Linked DNA regions of Homo sapiens: all the other regions are linked to region 2. Evidence: promoter capture Hi-C in 16 types of primary human blood cells and fetal thymus (Javierre and others, 2016). All regions are on one chromosome and are shown on one strand. The core of a region is centred on a gene start or on the middle of the fragment in contact, and the rest is flanking DNA. Distances in the headings are between cores, read along the strand shown.

Region 1 (2,964 bases), core at 72-2,571, 400 kb before region 2:
GGTTTTATTTATTTATTTACAGACAGGGTTTGGCTCTGTTGCCCAGGCTGGAGTACAGTGATGTGATCATAGCTGACTGTAGTCCCATCCTCTTGGGCTCAAGTGATCCTCTGGCCTTGGCCTCCCAAAGTGTTGGGATTACAGGTGTGAGCCATCACTCACAATTTAAACTCTATAATACAAAGTTTAAAAAGGCGGGCACAGTGGCTCACGCCTGTAATGCCAGCACTTTGGGAGGCCGAGGCAGGCGGATCACAAGGTCAGGAGATCGAGAACATCCTGGCTAACATGGTGAAACCCCGTTACTACTAAAAATACCAAAAATTAGCCGGGCGTGGTGGTGGGCGCCTGTAGTCCCAGCTACTCGGGAGGCTGAGGCAGGAGAATGGCGTGAACCTGGGAGGTGGAGCTTGCAGTGAGCTGAGATGGCGCCACTGCACTCCAGCCTGGGCGACAGTGCGAGAGTCCATCTCAAAAAAAAAAAAAAAAAAAAAAAGGCAATAAAGGCCAGGCACAGTGGCTCATGCCTCTAATCCCAACACTTTGGGAGGCTAAAGTGGAAGGATCACTTGAGCCTAGGAATTCAAGACCAGCTGGCAACATGGCAAGACCTCATTGTTACAAAAGATAAAAAATTAGCCAGGCATAGTGGCATGTGCCTGTGGTCCCAGCTACTCGGGAGGCTGAAGCAGGCAGATGGCCTGAGCTCAGGAGTTCAAGGCTGTGGTGAGCTGTGATTGCACCACTGCACTCCAGCCTGAGTGACAGAGCCAGACCCCGTTTCAAGAAAATAAAAACAAAAATTAAAAATAAAAAGGCAATATATTAAGACTTGCCCCTGGCAGTTCCTCAAAATGATAAACATAGGGTTGCCTTATGGCCCAGCAATTCTACTCTGACCTATATGCCTAAGAGAAATGAAAGCATCTGTTTACACAAAGACTAACACATGAATGTTCATTGCTGCATTATTCATAGCAGCCAAAAAGTGTAAACAACCCGTATGTCCATCACTGACAGTGGTTAAACAAAATGGTGGCCCATCCATAATACAGAATATGATTCAGCTGTAAGAAGGAATGAAGTTCTGATCCATGCTACAGTGTGGCTGAACCTTGAGAACGTCCTGCTAAGTAAAAGGATCCAGTCACAAAGGACCGCATTAATTGTGTGATTCCATTTATAGGAAATGTGCAGAATAAACAAATCCACAGGGGCAGAAAGTAGATTTGTGATTGCTCAGGGTTGGGGGCGTTGGAGGATTAGGATGCGGGAGGGTTCTGGGTTTCTTTTCTTTTTTTTTTTTTTTTTTGAGATGGAGTCTCACTCTGTTGCCCAGGCTGGAGTGCAATGGTATGATCTCGGCTCACTGCAAGCTCCGCCTCCGGGGTTCAAGCGATTCTTCTGCCTCAGCCTTCTGAGTAGCTGGGATTACAGGTACACGCCACCACGTCTGGCTAATTTTTGTACTTTTGGTAGAGACGGGGTTTCACCATGTTGGCCAGGCTGGTCTCAAACTCCTGACCTCAGATGATCCGCCTGCCTTGGCCTCCCAAAGTGCTGGGCCCAGGGTTTCTTTTTGAGTTGATGGTGTTCTAACATTGATTGTGATGGTTGTACAACTCTGTGTATACACTCAAAGACATTGAATCATACATGTTAAATGGGTGAAGTGTACGTTAAGTGAATAATCTCTCAATAAAGCTGTTTAAAAAAAGAAGTCACACCTTCCTCTCTGACCCTCCTGCTAGGAATCCTTTGGCTCCAGCTCTCTGCCCTCTTGGGAAATTCCCTTTCTCTTCTCCACCCTCTCCCTACACACACACACACACACACACACACACACACACACACCCCTGCCATTCTGTCTTAAGCTATTTTCAGCCGGGCATGGCGGCTTACGCCTGCAATTCCAGCACTTTGTGAGGCTGATGCAGGAGGATCACTTGAAGCCAGGAGTTCAAGACCAGCCTGGGCAACGTAGTGAGACCCCGACTCTATAAAAGAATAAAAAAATTAGCCGAGAGTGGCCGGGCACGGTGACTCATGCCTGTAATCCCAGCACTTTGGCAGGCTGAGGTCAGGAGATCGAGACCATCCTGGCTAACACAGTGAAACCCCGTCTCTATTGAAAATACAAAAAAAAAAAAAAAAAAAAAAAAAAAGCCAGGCGTGGTGGTGGGCGCCTGTAGTCCCAGCTACTCAGGAGGCTGAGGCAGGAGAATGACGTGAACCCGGGAGGCGGAGCTTGCAGTGAGCCGAGATCGCACCACTGCATTCCAGCCTGGGCGACAGAGCGAGACTCCATCTCAAAAAAAAGAAAAAAAAAAGCCAAGAGTGATGTTCATCTGTAGTCCCAGCTACTCAGGAGGCTGAGGCAGGAGGATCACCTGAGCTCAGGAGTTTAAGGCTGCAGTGAGCTATAATGGCACCAGTGCACTCCAGCTTGGGCAACAGAGCAAGACACTGATTATAAAAAAAAAAAAAAAAAAAGATTTTTATTCTCAGTTTAAAGAATGGCTTCCACAGGCAAAGTGAACCACTGAGGTATTTTTCTGAACTACCACACTTTCTTTCCTCTTTAAAAGTTACTCAGTTGACAGCTACTAAAATTACAATGTTGAAATCCCCAGGGTATTCTATTGTGGCTGTCACCAAGAAATCCTAATAGATCTAATTTCCAAGAGCTGCAGAATTCCCTCAAAGAAGGAGGAGCCAACCTAACCTCTCCAGAGACAGTGGTCATCTGTTCCGAAACATAACTCTGTCACCTCACAGGTGGGGAGAAAAGAACGTTGCCAGGGCCAAGTTCATGATGTTCTAACTGAAGGATAAGCTTTTGCTCTGGAACAGGAGTCAGGAAATACGGCCTGTGGGCCAAGTTTGGCCCACTCCTTGTTTTTGTGAATAAAGTTTTATTGCAACACACAGCCACATCCGTTTGTTTGTGTACTATCTGTGGCT
Region 2 (3,216 bases), core at 386-2,885:
TAACATATGCACACACATACAAAACCTCAAACTTTTAAAAGCCTGGATTAAAAGATTTCTGCTACCTAGAAAATACTTCCCACCAAAGCCAGGTTTGTAGCCAAGCACATTCTATGAGATGATAACAAGGGAATCCTTTCCCCAGACAATGTTTTAGACTATCAGTTCTGTGCTAATCTATCCTAGAGGGACTTCATGTCACTGGGTCCCTTGGCTTGGTTTATTTATATCCCCAGTTTAAAACCATCTTTACTAGGCCCTGTGTGTTGCCTTAGGCCCTATGCCAAGCACTGGGGATACCTAGATGAATCAAACAGGATCCCTGCCCTCAAAGAGACTGTGGTCACTCTTCTCAGCTGACATTTTTCTCCCGGCCACCTGATATATCTAGGGGATCATCAGACTTGTCCGACCAAGCTGTGTCCCCTCTCAACACCCCTCAGACCCATGTGTAGCCCCATTCCATCTTTCTCAGTGTTCTCCATTGTCCTTAACTGTAGTTAACCTTTGCCAACATCCTCAGCGTCAAGCTCCAATCCCTTTCTGACCCTATGGCCCTCTTAACACAGCCTTGGTGAATGTCCTATTTCCTGGTCCCTCCTTTTCCCTATTGGGGTTTTTCCAGCGCCTCAGCATCTCCTTTCATGTCTCCCCATCACCCTCAGAGATCTTCCATCCTCATCACTGTTCCCTTTCAGGGACCTTCCTTCTGCCCCCAGAAACTCCCTTAATGGCCAACTTCAGGACTCTCCCGTTATTCCTATCCAGATCCTCCTTCCGACATCTCCCCCTCCCCTGCAGCGACCTCCGATCCTCTCCTACCACTCAGAGCCCCTTCACCTTTCAGTGCCCTTGCACCCATGTCAGGGACCTGCATCCTTCTGGGGACCCCTCCCATCCCTCTTAGTGTTGTCAGGGAATTGCATCCTTCTCGGGACCCCTTCCATCATTCTCACTGTGCCTGCACAGTGTCAGGGACCCGCATCCCCTGGGGACCCCTCCCATTTCTCTTAGTGTTCTTGAACTCTGGTCAAAGACTTGCATCCTTCTTGGGACCCCTCCCTTCCCTCTCAGAGTCCCCGCACAGTGTCAGGGACTGGCATTCCTCTTAGTGTTCTTCAACTCCTGCCAGGGACCTGCAGCCTTCTCGGGGCCCCTCCAATTCTTATCAGTGTCCCCGCACGGTGTGAGCGACCGGTATCCTCCTAGCGACCCCTTACATACGTCTGTGTTCCCGCAGTGTGAGGGACCTGCATCCCCCTGGGGACCCCTGCCATCCTTCTCTGTGTCATCGCGTAGTGTCAGGGGCCTGAATCCCCCTCAGAGCCCCTCCATCCCTGTCAGAGGCCTCGCATCCGCTCAGGAGGCCCTCAACACTCTCGGAGTCCCCTCACTCCCGCGCCAGCGCGGCCGCACCTCCTCGGCCGGCTGCGTGTTGAGCACCAGCACCAGGCAGGCTGGGTGGCAGTGCAGCTGGAGAAAGTGGTAGAGGAGCCGGTCCGCGCCGAGCCCGCGGGCGCACACTACTAGCCCGTCAGTGTCGAGCAGTTCCAGCACCAGCTGTCGCTCGTACTCCAGCAGCGGCGCCATGGCAATCCGTCGAGCCGGCTGCCCTGACTCCATGGAAGCTCTTCCGGGTCGCAGCCGAACGCAGCCGAAGGAAGCCGACTCCTAGTGGAGAGTAGGCCGAACTCAACCGAAGAGAGCCGAGTCCGAGAGGACGGCAGCCAGCCGAACGTAGCCGAGGAGAGCTGAGACTGAGATGATCGTGGGCCGAACGCAGCCGAAGAGGAGCCGAGGCCACGACAGGCGCGCTCTCAGAAAGCCGAAGAGAGCCGAGCCTGAGAAGGCAAGCGTTGGCCGAACTCAGCCGAAGAAGAGCCGAGTGGAGCCGAAGATTCATGGAGTCACCTGTAGGGGCTGGCGCCCCCTGTCGGTGTAGCTTGCAGATATCAGGCTCCATTCACGTCTCTTTTGAGTTTCCACATCCCCTGGCACCCTAGCCTCAAGCTGCCAAAAAGCAAGGGAAGGGGAAGTAAGCCTAAGGAGCTTAATCCCCCGACATCGACAGTTGAAAAAGTTACTGGTCAATATTCCAAATGCGCCAAGAGTTAGTAGCACCTGTTTCCTAGGGTGGTTTTTGGCCCTTCCTTTTGCGATTACTCCCCATCCTTCTTTTAATTTTTTTTTTCTTTCCCGAGACAGGATGTTGATATGTTGCCCAGGCTGGAGTGCAGTGGCTGTGGAATAAGCAGAATCATTTACTGACTTCAGACCTCTGTTTGCCTCCCAAAGACTTCAATACAATAAACTATTTTTAAAAATCCCTCCTTCCACTAGAGGGACACCTCCCGCAGTGTTTGTTCTATACCTAGAAATGCCTGATAGTTGAACTAGTAGAGGAATTGTTTTGTATAGAAACCCCCCACCTTTGTTATTAGAAAATAGAAAATACAAGTAAACAAAAATGAAAATCACTTGTTTCCATTACTTGGAAATAACCACTGTTAACATCACGAAATCTATTTTATTTAGTCCTTTTTTTTCTATCTATATACACATTCTCTCATCACACGGAGTTCTTTTACCGACACGAGATAATTAATATCCCTGATTTAAATCCCCAGCTTTGTCATTAACATTTGGCAAACCTCTGAACATGATGTTTCATATTCTTTTACAAAGTCCTTTTATATGGCTGATGAGATTTCCATTATGTGGGTGTACTTACCTAATTGCTTATTAGAGGACATTTAGTCTGTTTCTGCTTTTTCCCTTCCAGTAATATAAATAATATTTCACTAAACATCTTTGTATGTAAATTCAGCCGTGGCCTTCAGATACACGTCTAGAAATGAATAATCACTGGGATAAAGAGAAAAAAATTTGTAAGGCTTTTCATTCCATTCACATTGCCACATTGCCCTCTAGAAAGCCTATACCAATTCACATTCACACTAGCCGTTTCCAAGAGGATCTGTTCCTCTACCTCTTTACTGCTTAATCTGGTATTTTGCTTACATTTTGTCAAGATGAAAATAGCATATAATTCCTGAATGCTGTTTAAGTGGAAAGGGTTGCCGGCAGACACTTTACATACAGCGTTTCCTCTGAGGCAGATATTAATCTCGTCAGTTCTGCCAGTGAGAAAAATGGAGGTGCAGGGAGGTTATATAACTTGGGCAAGGCCACGGGAGCTAGTTAGTGTATTTCTTA
Region 3 (3,268 bases), core at 192-2,691, 440 kb before region 2:
AATCCAGCCATTTATTTATAAAGCATTCATCCATCTATCCATTTGTCTATCCACCCATGCATCCACCTGTGTATCCATCTAATCATCTGTTTCTCCATGTCTCTGCTTGCCTGTCCATCCATCCATCCATCCATCCATCCATCCATCCATCCATCCATCCGTCTGTCTGTCCATCCACCTATTTATCCAGCCAGCAACACATCCAACAAATATCTGTTGAGTGCTGACAATGTGCCAAGATCTGCTGGGCAGAGCCTTGCTGGGGAGGTGCAGGGGAAGTGATGAGCAGATGTGGGCTGAGGTTTGCCTCACTCCCTGCCAGGGCCCTGCCCAAAATGGGCACAGACTTGCCCCGGGGGTTCCTCCCCGTCCTGGGCTGCCTGGTCTTGTTAGGAGGGAGGCGGCCCTCACCTCTGGGCTTGGGAAAATGTCCCTGGCATTCTACTCTTGAGAGTGTCACTGTATTAGTCCATTTTTCTACTGTTGTAAGAACTGCCTGGGACTGGGTAATTTATAAAGGAAAGAGGTTTAATTGACTCATAGTTCAGCATGGCTTGGGAGGCCTCAGGAAACTTACAGTCATGATGGAAGGCAAAGGGGAAGCAAGCACCTTCTTCACAAGGTGGCAGGAAGAACTGCCGAGTGACGGGGGGCAAGAGCCCCTTATAAAACCATCAAATCTGATGAGAACTCACTATCCTAACAGTACCGGGAAATTGCCCCCATGATCCAATTACCTCCGCCTGGTCTCTCCCTTGACATGTGGGGATTACAATTCAAGATGAGATTTGAGTGAGGACGCAAAGCCAAACCATATCCGTCACCTACGCAGACAGTGGGTGAGAAAATGCACCCAGACTGCAGAAGGCCACACACTCCCCAGGTCACCTGCCTCCCTCCTGCTCCAGCCTCAAACATCACCCCTTGCTGCCTTTCTATGGACAGATGTGAACTCTGGGCCATCCTCAGCCACTGCTGCTGATCTATTAGCTCTTCTTCCTCATCTCAGGTCTTTGGGTTTCCAGACAAGATGCCAAATATTTGTGCTGCCCCCTGAGCATTTTTTTACAAGATGGGATCTTGCTATTTTGGCCAAGTTGATCTTGAACTCCTGGCCCCAAGCAATCCTCCCACCTTGGCCTCCCAAAGTGCTGGGATTACAGGCATGAGCCACAATGCCCAGCCCCACTGATCTTCTTGTAGCCCATTCTCAACTAGTCCCAGAGCCTCAAGGCAGCCTTTTTAGCTCTTGGGAAAGCCAAAGTTATTGCTAACCTCACTGTGTAGCCCTTCTCATGTCTCTGAACCAGCAAACTTATGACCTGGGCTTATATCTGTTCACTTAGGATGTGAAAATACCAACCCACCGCCTCTCAGGTTCAGAGGGTTCCAGGGTGCAGATGGGGCTGGGTTGGGGTGCCCCCCACTACAGGACCAAGGTGCCAGGAAAGGCAGGGCCACCCATTGGGGCCAAGGGGACCCAGCCAGCACTAGAGCAATGGCTCTACCTGTGATGGACAGAGGAGGAGCCTGGGGCAAAGACTGGGAGGCAGGACTGGGTCAGCCTGGCCAGGAAATAGCAGGAGCCAGGCCCCTTACCCTGCTCCTGTCAGTGGGGTCTTTGTTCCCCCTCCCAGGCCCTCCTTCCCAACACCCATGGTCTGCTCGCTGTCCCCGAGGCCACAGGGCATGGTGCAGAGCTGACATCATTTGATGTGTCTGCAGCAGTCACCGGCTGTGCAAGATGACATTCTTAGATCACTCCAGGAGCTGGTACGTGTGTCCAGGTGAGAGGTGAACTTGGTGACTTTCATAATCAGGAAAAAATATTAAGCTGCCTGTACCCACGCGTTTCAGTTTCCTAGGGGTGTTGTAAAAAATCACCACAAACAGGGCAGCTTAAAGCACCAGAAATGGATTTTCTCAGAGCTCTGTAGACCAGAAGACAGAAATCAAGTTGTCCAGCAGGCCCACTGGGTACACTCACAGGTAGCTGGGGTGAGGATTTCAACATATCTTTTTGGGGAATATAATTGGGCTCACAACACCATAGGGCCCTGATTTTGTTTAAAAACCACATTGGTGGCTGGGTGCAGTGACTCACGCCTGTAATCTCAGCACTTTGGGAGGCCGAGGCAGGAGATCCTCTTGAGTCCAGGGGTTCGAAATCAGCCTAGGCAACATAGCCAGACCCTGTCTCTACAAAAAATTAAAAAATTAGCCAGGCTTGGTGGTGTGCACCTGTAGTCCCAGCTCCTTGGGAGGCTAAAGGAGGAGGATCACTTGAGCCCAGGAGGTGGAGGCTGCAGTGAGCCATACCCGTGCCACTGCACTCCAGCCTGGGCCACAGAGTGAGACCCTGTTTCTAAAAAACTTTTTTAATTTGAAAGACAAAAAAACACACACTTTCATATGTTCCGTTTCTTGATCCAGATGCTTATTACATGGGAGTTTTTGCCCGAAAATTCCATCAAGCTATACATTTATGATCCATGCATTTTTCTGCACATATGTTATATTTCAATCAACGTATTCTAAAGCACACACATGCTGAAAACAGCCGACCTACCATGGGGTTAACAGAGGCCTCCCCTGGGGGGTAGGTTTATGGATTTCATTTTTCTCCGTTATGTTCCAAGTTGTCTGCAATAAGCCTGCATTCACTTTGTGGAATAAAAAATACATGTATGTCATTAAAAAAGTGCTAGAGATGGCACATTCCCTCTCAGATCCTTCCCTGCTCCCAAAACTATTGTAAAAGGAGGTGAGGATTCGAATGGAAATTTGGCTGCCTCAAGATTCTTTCCAAATTAATATTTTTAGCACGATTACGCACCGCTTCAAATGTCCTGCTAATGATATGTTGTCCTGATTATCCAAACTGTCTTTCTGCGGAGTGATTTGTGTGGCTCCAGCAGGAATCTCACCTGTGTCCTCTTCCGGAGGGCGAGGTAATAATAGGACTGACCTCATGGGTGGCCAGGAGGCTTAGCTGGGATAATGCACATGAAACCCCATGCACGGGGCTCTGGCACAGGGGACCGGCTGCCTCAAGTACCCTCCTGATTAGGGAATGCCCAGAGAGCGGCCCAGGTGCCTCAGGGTCCTCGGTTCATGGCTCAGTTTATTTGGGGAAGTCTGAGACCCTCCCCTGTTCCATGTTGTCATCCCTGCGGGATGGACAGGGATGCTGGGGGCTGCCCTTCTCTGGCATGTTTTCCCGTTTTGCTCCCCCACTTTTTAAATTTAAATTTAAATTTTTATTTAT
Region 4 (2,945 bases), core at 285-2,784, 420 kb before region 2:
AAATTAGCCAGGCGTGGTGGCGGGCGCCTATAATCCCAGCTATTTGGGACCTAAGGCAGGAGAATCACTTGAACACAGAGGCAGAGGTTGCAGTGAGCTGAGATTGCATCACCGCACTCCAGCCTGGGTGACAGAGTGAGACCCCATTTCAAAAAAAAAAAAAAAAAAAATAGTCTGGTAACAGAAGGGCTGAGATGGGAGAAAAGAGAGCCACTGAAGTAAAGGAAAGATGTCATGGAGGACTCCATGAATGTAGAACTTACTTATTCGCTGGGTATGGTGGTTCATGTCTGTAATCTCAGCACTTTGGGAGGCTGAGGGGGAGAATTGCTTGAGGCCAGGAGTTCCAGACTACCCTGGAAAACATGGTGAGACCCCATCTCTATTATTTTTTAAAGGAAAAAAAAAGCTTACTTTCACTTGCTCAAACCCAGAATACATGAGTCATTGCTAATGGTGGCAGGCATTGTTGGTGACTGAGATGTATCCCATCAACCTGTCCCTGGCCTGGCTTCCAACTTTGGCACTTGCATTTCTTTGCCCGAGGACATCTTCTGACTTCTGGAGCCCATTCAACCCTTTCGCATAGCAGGAGAGAATACTGACATTGATATAGTTTGGCTGTGTCCCCACCCAAATCTCATCTTGAATTCCCATCTGTTGTGGGAGGAACCCACTGGGAGGTAATTGAATCATGTGGGCTAGTCTTTCTCGTCCTGTTCTCATGATATTGAATAAGTCTCATGAGATCTAATGGTTTTATAAAGAGGAGTTCCCCTGATAAGCTCTCCCTTTGCCTGCTGCCATCCATGTAAGAGGTGACTTGCTCCTCCTTGCCTTCCACCATGATTGTGAGGCTTCCCCAGCCACATGGAACTGTAAGTCCATTAAATCTTTTTTTTTTTTTTTTTTTTTTTTTTGTAAATTACCCAGTCTCGGGTATGTCTTTATCAGCAGTGTGAAAATGGACTAATACAGGCATATTAACACTCCCTGGGAGCAGCTTTCAACCAATGACTGGCAAGGTCTGGAGTATAAATACCCCAGCTCTCTTGCCTCTCAGATGAGAACAGTGTATGTTCAACATTATCTCCCAAAGTTCCTGAGTGAGACTGAGCTGCAGTTGCCCACAGAGGTAACTCATTTCATAACACACCCCTGTGGGTGGGCTTCCTTTCTTGACTCTCTTCCCCACTTCCTACCCATGCTTCCTCAAGTCCCCTTTGTGTGTGTGTGTGTGTGTGTGTGTGTGTGTGTGTGTGTGTGTGTGTGACATGGAGTTTTGCTCTTTCCCAGGCTGGAGTGCAATGGTGCAATGTTGGCTCACTGTAATCTCCATCTCCCAGGTTCAATCAATTCTCCTGCCTCAGCCTCTCAAGTAGCTGGGATTACATACAGGTGCATGCCACCATGCCTGGCTAATTTTTTATATTTAGTAGAGATGGGATTTCACCATGTCGGTCAGGCCGGTCTCAAACTCCTGCCCTCAGGTGATCCACCCACCTCAGCATCCCCAAGTGCTGGGATTACAGACATGAGCCACTGCGCCCAGCCCTCAAGTCCCTTCTTATGTAAATGATTTCTATCACTCAAGTCCTTGTCTTATAGTCCACCTCTGGGAGAGGTCAAGCTAATTTCTAATATCTCTTTTCACCCTCCAATCCAATCTCTAAGTCCTATCAATTCTTCCAAAATGCATTTCAAATTAATGTGTTTCTCAACTCCACAGCCATTGCCCTGGCCCAAGCTACCACCATCTTTGACCTAGGTAACTGCACCAACAGCTTGATTAATATCCCTCCTTTCATTGTTGCCTCTCTTTGATCTGTTGTCCATACAGCAAAGGTATCTGTTAAAATCTAAGTAAAATAAGCCAGGCATGGTGGCTCACACCTGTAATCCCAGCCCTTTGGGAGACCAAGGCAGGAGGATCACTTGAGGCCAGGAGTTTAAGACCAGCCTGGGCAACATAGTAAGACCCTGTCTCTAAAAAAAGTTAGCCGGGCATGGTGACATACATTTGTTGTTCCAGCTACTCGGAAGGCTGAGGTGGCAGGATCCTTTGAGCTCAGGTGTTTGAGGCTGCAGTGAGCTATGATTGTACTACTGCACTCCATCCAATTAATTGAATCCACTCAATCAAAAATTAATTTAAAAAGTAAAAAGTAAATACAAATAAAAATAAAGAAAATAAATGAAAAAGAAAACCATGTTACTCTTCTGGTCAAAACTTCCCATTACTTTCCCAACATACTAGGAGAAAATTCCCAACTCTTTCATGTAGCCTCCAAGGCTGGCATGATCTGGCCTGGCCCATCCTTCCTTCCATCTTTGTCTTAACTCACTTTCCTCCCGACTCGCTCTGCTGCAGCCAGACCTAGAAATCTCAGGCTCTGTTCTTCCTTGGGGACATGGCCTGTGCAGTTCCTTTTACCCAGATATTTTTCCTGCAACTCTTTGTATGTTTCATTCTTGTAGACCCAGCTTAGACATTGTCTTCTTAGAGCAATCTTTCCTGATCACATGATCTAAAGTTATTCTACTCATAAATTTCTCTCCTCAGTACCTATTGGTTTCTTTCTCAATACTCTGTGTATTTTGTAATTGTTTGGTTGTTGATTTACTTTTGTCTGTCTTATTCCTGAAATGTCAAGCTTCATGAGATCACAGACCATGTCTGTTGCTCACTGCCACATGCCTCACACCTTGTATGGTGACTGTCACATGGTAGGTGTGCAGCAATTGATTGTTGTATAAATAAAACATTGACGTTAGTGTCTAGGGAACCCACCCCGGGACATACCTCTCTTCACATGGATGACTTGGCAGGGTATTTGTTGGTAATCAGGGACACTATCCTCTTCATCTCTGTGACCACAGTCTCTGCCTCTGAGAGGCCCAGATCCTAGGATGGGAGACCTGGGTTAAAATCCTGGCTTGGCCTC
Region 5 (3,129 bases), core at 420-2,919, 380 kb before region 2:
GGAAAGGCCACTCCCCCACGCACCTTTTCTCCTCATTTTAACCCCCCTCCCTTTTTCACAACTTCTCCTAAAAATAAATTATAAATATGGATGTGTCCTCAGAGGACATAAGCGGCGCATTCCAACGCTCCGCTTGGTGGGGATTGGAAGCAAAGAGAAACCAGAAACGCCACTCCCCCCACCCCCAAATCAAAATGCCTTTTTCTTTTTTTTTCTAACTTCTTTTTCCTAACTTGGTGTTGTCTCGGGCACAGACACCCCGCTCCGCACCCCGGAACCTAGTTTTTTTGCCCCCGTCCTGCAGAAGCTAAAGCCAACGCGCCAGGGCTGCCTGCTTCTCGGGGGGAGGGAGCTGACAACTTTAGGGGGCGGCGGTAACTCTCTGGGGACGGTGGTTCCCGGCTAGTCCGGGATCCCCGGGGCCCGGCCCCCGCAGGCGCCGCCGCCCATGCCAGCGGGGCTCGGGCGCACGTGGAGCGGCGGGCGCGGCCGGCCTGCTCCGCGCGCGGCATTGAGATCGGGGTCACGCAGCGAGTCAGTTTCCCGAGCGGGCTTTCCGGGGTGGGGGCGGGGACGCGGACGCTCCACCGCCTCGTCAATTTCCAAGCCCAGGCACTAGGGAGGCTGGGGGCGGCCTCGCCCCCTTCCTACCTCCCGGCTTCACACGCCCCTCTGGGGAGCGGGGGAGGGGTCCGAGGGGGAGCCGGGGTGGCGGCAGCGGCGGCAATCGCAGCCCAGACAAGCGTCTCGCGCCGAGTCCCGAGAGAACCGCGCGCTCCCCCGCCGCCACCTCCCCTCTCCCGTTCCCATCCACCCCGCAGACAGCCGCCCCACACCCCTTCGGCCCTGGGGGCTTGGGCACCCACCTGCCGCGATCCCTGCCTTGGCTGGCGGAAGGTGCCAGGCGGGAAGAAGGGGAGCACTCACCGCCGCTGCCGCCTCCGGGGGTGCACGGGCCCCCCCACCCAGGGCTGCGCCTTCCCGGGCTCCGGGCAGGCGTGCGCCGGGCGGGGGGCGCCCCGCGGGCCCTGCAGCCTCCGCCTCGATTGGAGCCCAGCCTTAAATCCTCCACCGTGGAGAAGAAGGGTACTTCCAGAAAAAAAATCCGCCCCTCCCCAGACGAGATCCAAGTGATGGGCGGGGAGCGTAGAAAATCCTTTTCTGCAGAGAGCGCGCAGCCGACGGGGCTGCACCCGGCCTCCACGGTCCGCTGCCGCCACAAAGCCGCGCCCCCGCCCCCCCCAACCCCCCAGCGCCCTATGGCCGGCCCGGGGCGGGGGCTGGGCCGGCCCGGGGTTGGCCGCGCTGGGGAGGCGGCGGCGGCAGCGGCCCAGGCGGCGGGGCGGCTCCTCCCCGGCCAGGCAGAGAGGGCGAGAGCCTGGAAGCCTAGCGCGCCCGCCCGGGTGGGGGTGGGGGTGGGGGTGGGGGTGGGGGTGGGGGCGGGGGCCGGGGTGGGGGGGCGCCTTCCTAGAAACGCTCGCCAAATATAGTCAGCGGATAGGGGCATTCCTAGAAATGCGGCGGCGACGTCAGCCTCGACCCTGGGGGCGGGGGGCAGAGCCCGGGGTGCTTCAAACAGGGGGCACGGAGGAGGGGGAAAGAGTCCCCACTTCCAGTACCACCGCAGCCCACAGACGGAACCGAGGCCGGGCTTCCCTCCCGAGGGGCGTGCTGGAGTCCTCCAAAGGCGCTTGAGGTATCCGGGAGCTAGGGGCGCATCCACTGAAGATTCAGACCCGGTCTGTCCCCCTCTTTCGGGAACACCCAGTGCCAATGCCAGCTGGCGCTTTTGGCCCTTCCCCCAATTTTCAGCACCCCCCGCTTCCCCCGCCGCACAAACACACACAACCCCCGTGAACAAACAGTAAAAGTAGGAGCAGCATCAGGCAGGTTCCCCAAGCCTCTTACACCCACCCCATGACGGTCTCTCACCTCCTCTGGAATGGCTGGAGTCCCCTGGATCCCCCAGGGTTGAAATTGCACAGACACACTGTGTTCCCAAGAACTCCCCCAAATACCAACCCAGCTTCGGGCCAGAAAATAAAGTTGTGCTTCCTCCTCCCCAGTCCAATGTCACTTTGTTGCTGCTTCCGGGGCTAAGGGCTCTTGGAGAGGTGCTGGAACTTGGGGGTAGGGCACAAGGGTGTCCCCTCCACCTGGCAAAGATCTGGCCTCTGGTGCTGACACTCTCACCAGCCATAGCTGTAATACTTTTCATTTCCCGCAGTAAGGGAGATGCCCCCCCCCAGCAGCTCATCCCCTTCCTAAAATCTTCCCCCACCCCCACACCCCTGCCCAGGGACCCCCAAATCCATTGCAGAAGTGGCCCCTCTTTCGCAAAGAGAATCCACATAACTGAGACATGACTTGTCCCTCTCCACCGCCCAGCCTCTCTGCGCGAAAACGTGACTGGCCTGAACCTCCCAGGATCATAAAAAATGTATTTTGCTGTCCTCTGTTGGCCAACACAGGTCACGCTCATAAAACACACCACCCAACTTAGCGGGCAGTCCTGATGCCACAGAGGAGGTCCCAGGGACCCCAGCCAAGGGGAGCGAGCTGGCCTCCTCTCCTTCTGCCTGTGGTGTCCCTGCCCTCTCCATCCTCTTTCTTTCTTTTTCTTTTTTTTTTTTTTGTTTGAGACAGAGTTTCACTCCTCTTGCCCAGACTGGAGGGCAGTGGCGCGATCTCGGCTCACTGCAACCTCTATCTCCCAGGTGTAGGCGATTCTCCTGCCTCAGCCTCCAGAGTAACTGGGATTACAGGCATGCGCCACCATGCCCAGCTAATTTGTGTATTTTTAGTAGAGATGGGGTTTCACCATGTTGGCCAGGCTGGTCTCAAACCCCCGACCTCAGGTGATCCACCCGCCTCGGCCTCCCAAAGTGCTGGGATTATGGGTCATCTTTCTTATCTTGCAGCCGACGCACAGGACTTGCTCATGTCCCCTTTTCCTCATTGGGCCTTAATTCCAGAAATCTGGAGGGATTTCTTCCTTGCTCTAGGGGAGGCAAGGAAGGCTGTGTTCACTCTGGACCCGGGGTCGGTGGGGCACGGGGGACCTTGGGATGGTTTTTCCAATAGCAACTTGGAGAGGAAATGTAGCACAAAAGGCAACAGCTGATCACT
Region 6 (3,095 bases), core at 466-2,965, 360 kb before region 2:
GACAGGGTCTGTGGTCCAGGTGAGGTTCTGTTGTCACACAACTGTGACCCAATCCCAGGCCTCCCAAATGCTAGGGTGAGAAACCAGGGTTGGCTGAAGCAGAGGGTGGTTTCAAGGGACTAGAAAGGCGGTGTTTTAAGTGAGAAAATGTCAGAATTGATCTGGTGACAAAGCCAAGTGCCATGATGGAATACTTTTGATCTTTTTGTTTCTTCTGTATAATTAAGTTGCCTAGATCTGAATAATTTATAAGCATCCACTTTTCCTTTGTGTTGAAACTTAGGCACTCTTTTCTATTTCAGAAACAAACAAAATATATACATATATATGTCTTTAATCTTTTTTGGCTTTTTCTGGCACCTCTATTTCCCTGTGCCTGTCTGTAAAGTAGAAATTCTTAGGCCGGAGGTGGCTCATGCCTGTAATCCTAGAACTTTGGGAGGCCCAGTTGGGTAGACTGAGCTCAGGAGTTCAAGACCAGCCTGGGCAACATGGTGAAACCACGTCTCTACTAAAATACAAAAAGTTAGCTGGGTGTGGTGGCACATGCCTATAGTCCTAGCTTCTCCGGAGGCTGAGGCAGGAGAATCACTTGAACCCAGGAAGCGGAGGTTGCAGTGAGCAGAGATGGAGTGAGACTGTCTCAAAAATTTCTTAACCTGAGCCCATGCACTCAAGCCCAGGAAACGTGTGACTTCCCCAAAAGTATATATAAAGTGCGTATATAGTTTTCCTGGAAGAGGGATGTCACAATTTATTGGGGTTTTTGTTTTTGTTTTGAGACAGTCTCGCTCTGTCACCCAGGCTGGAGTGCAGTGGTGCAATCTCAGCTCGCTGCAACCTCCGCCTCCTGGGTTCAAGTGATTCTCCTGCCTCAGTCTCCTGAGTAGCTGAGATTACAGGTGCGTGCCACCACGCCTGGCTAATTTTTGTATTTTTAGTAGAGACGGGGTTACACCATGTTAGGCCAGTCTTGAGCTCCTGACCTCGTGATCCACCTGACTCAGCCTCCCAATGTGCTGGGATTACAGGCATAAGCCACCGCGCCCAGCCGTTATTAGATTTTCAAAAAGACCTCCTGAGGGTCTTAGAAGGCTGAATGCCTTTTTACTTCCTCTCTCCCTTCCTGATGGTGCCTGATTAACCTAAGCCCTACCGAGATACAATATCTATCTAAAGTGGTTTAGCTACAGCTGTGGGTGTCTGAAAAATTGTTTCTGAACAATTCAATGGCAATGTCTCCAAGACACTTTCTGGCTCCAGGGAGGACCTGGGCTTCCCCCAGCTCCTCCATCCTGGCTCACCTTGTGTGCCTGGTGCCTGCTGCCTTCCACAGAGTGAGGGTGGGCAACAGAGGCTCTTCCTGGCCTGTGAGGGGCTGGCACCTGCGTTATCTCAGTAAGCCTTGGTGGTGGCTGGGTGGCACCTGCAGATTTCATGAAAATGCAGGCTGATTCAGTTAGTCTGGGCTGGGTCCGCGGAGCTGCCTTTCTAAGTTCCCAGTTAATGCTGCTGCAGCTGGTCCAGGGCCTCACTTTGGGAAGCACTGCTTTAAAGTATTCCTGGAGAAATTCGTTTGCTTGTGGAAGAGAAAAAACCCTCAGGCTTGGATATTTAGGTCATCTGAGGTCATGACAGCGGGCTTTTTACTAACACCCTAAATAAAGATTTTACCTAAAGAAAGCACACTTAGCTACTCACAGTATCCCAGCTCCTTGAGGCAGGGGCCCTGTGTTGTGAGGGATGGGCAGGGTTCTTTTTGTTTTTTAAAGAGACAAGGTCTTGCTCTGTCACTCACGCTGGAGTGCAATGGCATGATCATAGCTCACTGCAGCCTCTAACTCCTGGGCTCAAGTGATTCTCCTGATTCAGCCCTTGGCTCAACTGGTCCTCCTGCCTCAGCCTTCAGAGTAGTTGGGACTATAGGCACATGCCACCATGCCTACCGGGCTAATTTTTAATTTTTATTTATTTTTCGAGACGCAGTCTTGTTCTGTCACACAGGCTGGAGTGCAGTGGTATGATCTTGGCTCACTTGCAAACTCTGCCTCCCAGGTTCAAGGATTCTCCTGCCTCAGCCTCCCGGGTAGCTGGGATTACAGGCATGTGCCACCACGTGGGCCCAGCTAATTTTTGTATTTCTAATAGAGATGCTGTTTCACCATGTTGACCACGCTGGTCTTGAACTCCTGACCTCAAGTGATCCGCCCACCTCAGCCTCCCAAAGTGCTGGGATTACAGGCCTGAGCCACGTCGCCTGGCCCTAATTTTAAAATTCTTTTGTAGATGTCGGGGGTTGGGGGGGGGGTCTTGCTATGTTGCCTGGGCTGGTCTTGAACTCCTGGGCTCCAGTGATCCTCCTGCCTTGGTCTCCCAAAGTGCTAGGATTACAGGTGTGAGCCACCATGCTGGGCCTCAGCACCATTTGTTGAAATGATTACCCTCTCCCCATTGAATTGCCTGGGTACCTTGGTTAAAATTCAATGAACTGTGTGTGGTCTATTTTTGGTCTTTTTATTCTGTTCTGTTGATCCATATGTCCATCTTTATGGCAATTACCACCAGTCTTGATTATTGTATATTTATAGTGGGTACAAAATCAAGTATTGTAAATCCTTCCACTTTGTTTTTCTTTTACAAAATTGTTTTGCCTATAATAGATCCTTTGCATTTCCATATAATTCCTGGAATCGGCTCATCAGTTTCTATAAAATGCCTTCTGGGATTTTGATTGGGAACGCGTTGAATCTACAGATGAATTTGGGGGAATGGATGACTTAACAGTATGGAATCTTCCTATCCATGAATATTTCATTTCCCCATTGTTTGATGCTGATGCCTGTGAGTCTTTAATTTTGAATTCATTTCTTTGGAATTTAATTATGTGAGTTTCCTGTGATTTTTTTTTTCAGTGGAGGAGTAGTTGGAATGATTATGGTAACTGTATTCACCTCCTTTTAACAGTCTGTCCAAGTGAAAATCCCTGCCACATGTGGGAACTGTGTCAGCCCTGGCAGAATGCAGCAAGATGGGTGGTCTGTGTAACCAAAAATCTTCTGGCTTGAAAAGAGAGGTGATGATGATTATTTCAACAC
Region 7 (3,027 bases), core at 486-2,985, 340 kb before region 2:
GAAGGTTGCTAATAGAATTTTCAGTGTTATCAGTATACCTGGACTTCTGACAGTATTTTGTAGGTATCTTCTGTTTATGTTGAAAGATCTTGCATTTAAATTTAAATTTGGAAATATAAAGTACGATTCCAAAAAATCACAAAATAAACTACAACACCAAAAAAACGACACAGGTTTCTGAATAGAACCAAAAGTCTTCAGCCAGAAGCTGTCACTGAACTGGCCAAGGCTCTCCACTGCCTTTGACCTCTGCTGTGTCTTGGGCCTGGCTCCGGCCGTCTCTAGGAAGTACCAAGTGCAGTGACCTCTCACCTCCCTCACATCAGCCTTAGTTTTTGAGTGGAGCTGTCTGCCTTTTATTTAGGGTCTTAAAGTGACCAGAGATTTAAATGTAGTTAATTACCAGAATCCTAACGTCACTGTGCTGCATATATTACTCTTCTTTGTTTTTATCTAAAGGTACTTTTCATTCTTTACTGAAGTCTGGAGAAATAGATGAGTCGTCTTTGACAAGTGCGATTTTCAGAAGGCCCTGTGCTATGTTAAACTGTAGAAATTCACTACTGAACACAATGAAATGTTTTCAAACTTGGGTTCCAGGCTATGACCTTCCACCTATTCTTTCTGTGACAACATATTTTGATTGCAACAATGCAACTATAGATCTATCTCTAAAAACTGACCTTTTAGAATCTTCATGTTCTTAAACCTCATCAACTCTCAGAAAAGAAATCTGTGACGTTAGTCCCATGGCAGCGGTAGGTCCTGTGGGTCTAGAAAGTCAGCAGAGAACATGCTCGGCGCGGTGGTGCTGAGAGGAGTGAGTCCTGAAGAGGAGTTGGGCATGGTAATGTCCAACCACTCCATGTTGTCCAAGTTTGAGTCTGACAGGTCGAGAGACAGACAGGGAGTACCTGCAGCAAACTGGGTCTCGGAAGTCTCCATGGGTGAGTGTGAATGGTCCAGCATACCTGAGTGACTCAGCAGATCATTCTGGAGGTCCTCGATCAGAGAGAAGGGCTCTCTGTCTTCACTGCTGCTTTGTAGTGGAGGAATTTCATTGGCTGAGGGTAAAGTTCCATCCAAGAAAGCTTCTAGTTGGTTCTCTAAGCTGGCAGATAAACTGCCCATAGGTTCTAAAGATACAGGTGGTGCCATTTGGACTTGGGGTGGTGGCCGGGACACCACTGTATTCACTGGCATTGTGGTGATGCTGGCTGTCACTGGTCTCATTTTGGAAATAGGAGAAGGTTCTTCTTTTATGGGGAGGGAGATCTCTGTGTAAAATAAATGAAGTAATTAGTAACTGAAGATTTACTACTACTTAAAAATTTTTATTAATTACTAGGACAGTTACATTGCTATTATGCGATTCCTTCTATGCACGTCCGTCTTAGAAGTAGGAAGAGAATGCTATTGGTCAGGTACAATCCTTGACAACCTTTAGGATGATGGATCATTTTAGTCAAATAGATAAACATAAAAGTTTATTACATTCCTTTTTGTTGTAAATTTAGTCAGCAGACTGTCCAAGACCAGTTTATTACATTCTGATATGCTTTAAATTCTTCTCAGTAAGACTAAGCATTAAAAGCAGTTATATCTCACTAGATAGGTATCAATGGTTTTAGATTATTTTATCTTTGAGTCGTTATTTTGTCATTAAAGTTTTAAGATAGGGCTCATATCATCCTATGAATCTATCTATAGCAACATGATACTCCTAATATAAATGTTGAAATGTACATCCTGAGTTTGTGCTGAGACATGAAGTACATCCTCAATGTTATGAAAGAGGTAATTACATTCTTTTTTCCTTTTTTTTTTTTTTATCATTACAGTTGGACTGGGTACCCAATTTAGCCATGTGCATTCTGTGTAAAGTTCTGAAAATATACAATGACATTTGATTTCATTTCTGAATTAAAGCTAACATATGGTTCCTTTGATCCTTTTCTTTTAAGGTGAGGTGGATCACTTGGTTATCTCTTTCACTTTTTGGTCTTGTTTTCTGAGCTTATATAAAATTTTGATGATTTGGTAAATGTCTTCATTATGTGTTATTCCTTGCCAGATCAGGCAGCAAATTAACAGACCATCTTCTATAAATACTGGCGTTCACTAAACTACATAAATGAATGAAGTATCTTAAGTTTTATGAGGCTATGATTGGTTTCATTTATATGCAGATACACTAGGAAAAATAAATTAACAATACCTCTTAAAGCTCAATGATTGCTATGTGCAAATGGCTGAGAGAAGGAACTTAAAATTTGATTCCTATAAATGAATTGTCAACTGTGTGTACTGCATTTATTTTTGAATGGTTTGTTACTTTTAATTATCAGTAGTCATCTCTAAAACTGTTTTGAAAGCTTTAAGTGTCATCTAAGTAACTAGTCTTTTTTATTTTTATTATTTTTATTTTTTTGAGACGGAGTCTTGCACTGTTGCCAAGCCTGGCTGGAGTGCGGTGGCATGATCTCAGCTCATTGCAGCCTCCACTTCCTGGGTTCTGGTGATGCTCCTGCCTCTCAGCCTCCTGGGTGGCTGGATTACAGGTGCCCTCCACCATGCCCAGCTAATTGTTGTATTTTTAGTTTCACCATGTTGGCCAGGCTGGTCTTGAACTCCTGACCTCAGGTGATCCGCTTGCCGTGGCCTCCCAAAGTGCTGGGATTACAGGCAGGGCAAGGCACGGTGTCACAAGTAACTAGTCTTGTAACTATATAAAACTTGGTTCTCGTTATTACTGATATTAGTAGACAAGATGAAATAATATACTTACTGGATACTTTGTCATTAAAAAAAATCTCATTTTAGAAAATAGCTTGATTGTGTCACATTTTAATTTCCAAGTTTAAGGTGCCTGCCACCACACCCGGCTAATTTTTGCTAATTTTTGTATTTTTAGTAGAGACGGGGGTTTCACCATGTTGGCCAGGCTGGTCTTGAACTCCTGACCTCAAGTGATCCACCTGCCTCGGGCTCCCAAAGTGCTGGGATTATAGGCATAAGCCACGGGGG

Evidence for each region. The method cuts DNA at HindIII sites, captures the fragments that hold promoters and counts their contacts. A CHiCAGO score of 5 or more calls a contact.
Region 1: a contact is called between a fragment that was not itself captured here and the fragment with the promoter of ERCC4 in region 2, in 1 of 17 cell types (M0 macrophages). The highest score is 6.9, in M0 macrophages.
Region 3: a fragment that was not itself captured here is called in contact with the fragment with the promoter of ERCC4 in region 2 in 2 of 17 cell types (monocytes and naive B cells); the score reaches 8.0 in monocytes.
Region 4: a fragment that was not itself captured here is called in contact with the fragment with the promoter of ERCC4 in region 2 in 2 of 17 cell types (M0 macrophages and monocytes); the score reaches 7.0 in M0 macrophages.
Region 5: a contact is called between a fragment that was not itself captured here and the fragment with the promoter of ERCC4 in region 2, in 13 of 17 cell types (M0 macrophages, monocytes, M1 macrophages and 10 more). The highest score is 10.3, in M0 macrophages.
Region 6: a fragment that was not itself captured here is called in contact with the fragment with the promoter of ERCC4 in region 2 in 11 of 17 cell types (M0 macrophages, M1 macrophages, erythroblasts and 8 more); the score reaches 14.7 in M0 macrophages.
Region 7: a contact is called between a fragment that was not itself captured here and the fragment with the promoter of ERCC4 in region 2, in 10 of 17 cell types (M0 macrophages, M2 macrophages, M1 macrophages and 7 more). The highest score is 18.3, in M0 macrophages.

Annotation. Positions count from the first base shown.
Region 1 is chr16:14,316,457-14,319,420 of GRCh38, reverse strand. All of the region lies in intron 1 of MIR193BHG (MIR193b-365a host gene), which reads right to left. Among named protein-coding and RNA genes, the nearest start is that of MIR365A, 8.7 kb to the right of the region's middle. The HindIII fragment of the contact is 3,035 bases long and covers 1-2,838 here.
Region 2 is chr16:13,918,573-13,921,788 of GRCh38, reverse strand. It overlaps ERCC4 (ERCC excision repair 4, endonuclease catalytic subunit), which reads right to left and starts at 1,635. Exons shown (of 11, transcript NM_005236.3): 1 at 1,417-1,635. The coding sequence starts at 1,623. The region is part of intron 1 of LOC105371093 (a long non-coding RNA gene); the gene reads left to right. LOC124903647 (a long non-coding RNA gene) reads left to right here and starts at 1,711. Exons shown (of 2, transcript XR_007065001.1): 1 at 1,711-2,110; 2 at 2,206-2,324. RefSeq lists enhancers at 1,182-1,391, 1,432-1,791, 2,002-2,051. The HindIII fragment of the contact is 6,939 bases long and covers 1-3,216 here.
Region 3 is chr16:14,355,969-14,359,236 of GRCh38, reverse strand. No RefSeq gene overlaps it. Among named protein-coding and RNA genes, the nearest start is that of LINC02130, 13 kb to the left of the region's middle. RefSeq lists an enhancer at 1,987-2,036. The HindIII fragment of the contact is 5,355 bases long and covers 1-3,268 here.
Region 4 is chr16:14,339,630-14,342,574 of GRCh38, reverse strand. No RefSeq gene overlaps it. Among named protein-coding and RNA genes, the nearest start is that of LINC02130, 29 kb to the left of the region's middle. The HindIII fragment of the contact is 2,245 bases long and covers 412-2,656 here.
Region 5 is chr16:14,300,335-14,303,463 of GRCh38, reverse strand. It overlaps MIR193BHG (MIR193b-365a host gene), which reads right to left and starts at 2,083. Exons shown (of 2, transcript NR_170633.1): 1 at 1,933-2,083. RefSeq lists silencers at 360-599, 505-665, 950-1,439. The HindIII fragment of the contact is 3,766 bases long and covers 1-3,129 here.
Region 6 is chr16:14,280,549-14,283,643 of GRCh38, reverse strand. No RefSeq gene overlaps it. Among named protein-coding and RNA genes, the nearest start is that of TRT-CGT2-1, 3.8 kb to the left of the region's middle. RefSeq lists an enhancer at 1,357-1,858. The HindIII fragment of the contact is 6,943 bases long and covers 1-3,095 here.
Region 7 is chr16:14,259,159-14,262,185 of GRCh38, reverse strand. MRTFB (myocardin related transcription factor B) reads right to left here. Exons shown (of 17, transcript NM_001308142.2): 17 at 1-1,277. The coding sequence ends at 742. Among named protein-coding and RNA genes, the nearest start is that of TRT-CGT2-1, 25 kb to the left of the region's middle. The HindIII fragment of the contact is 1,284 bases long and covers 1,094-2,377 here.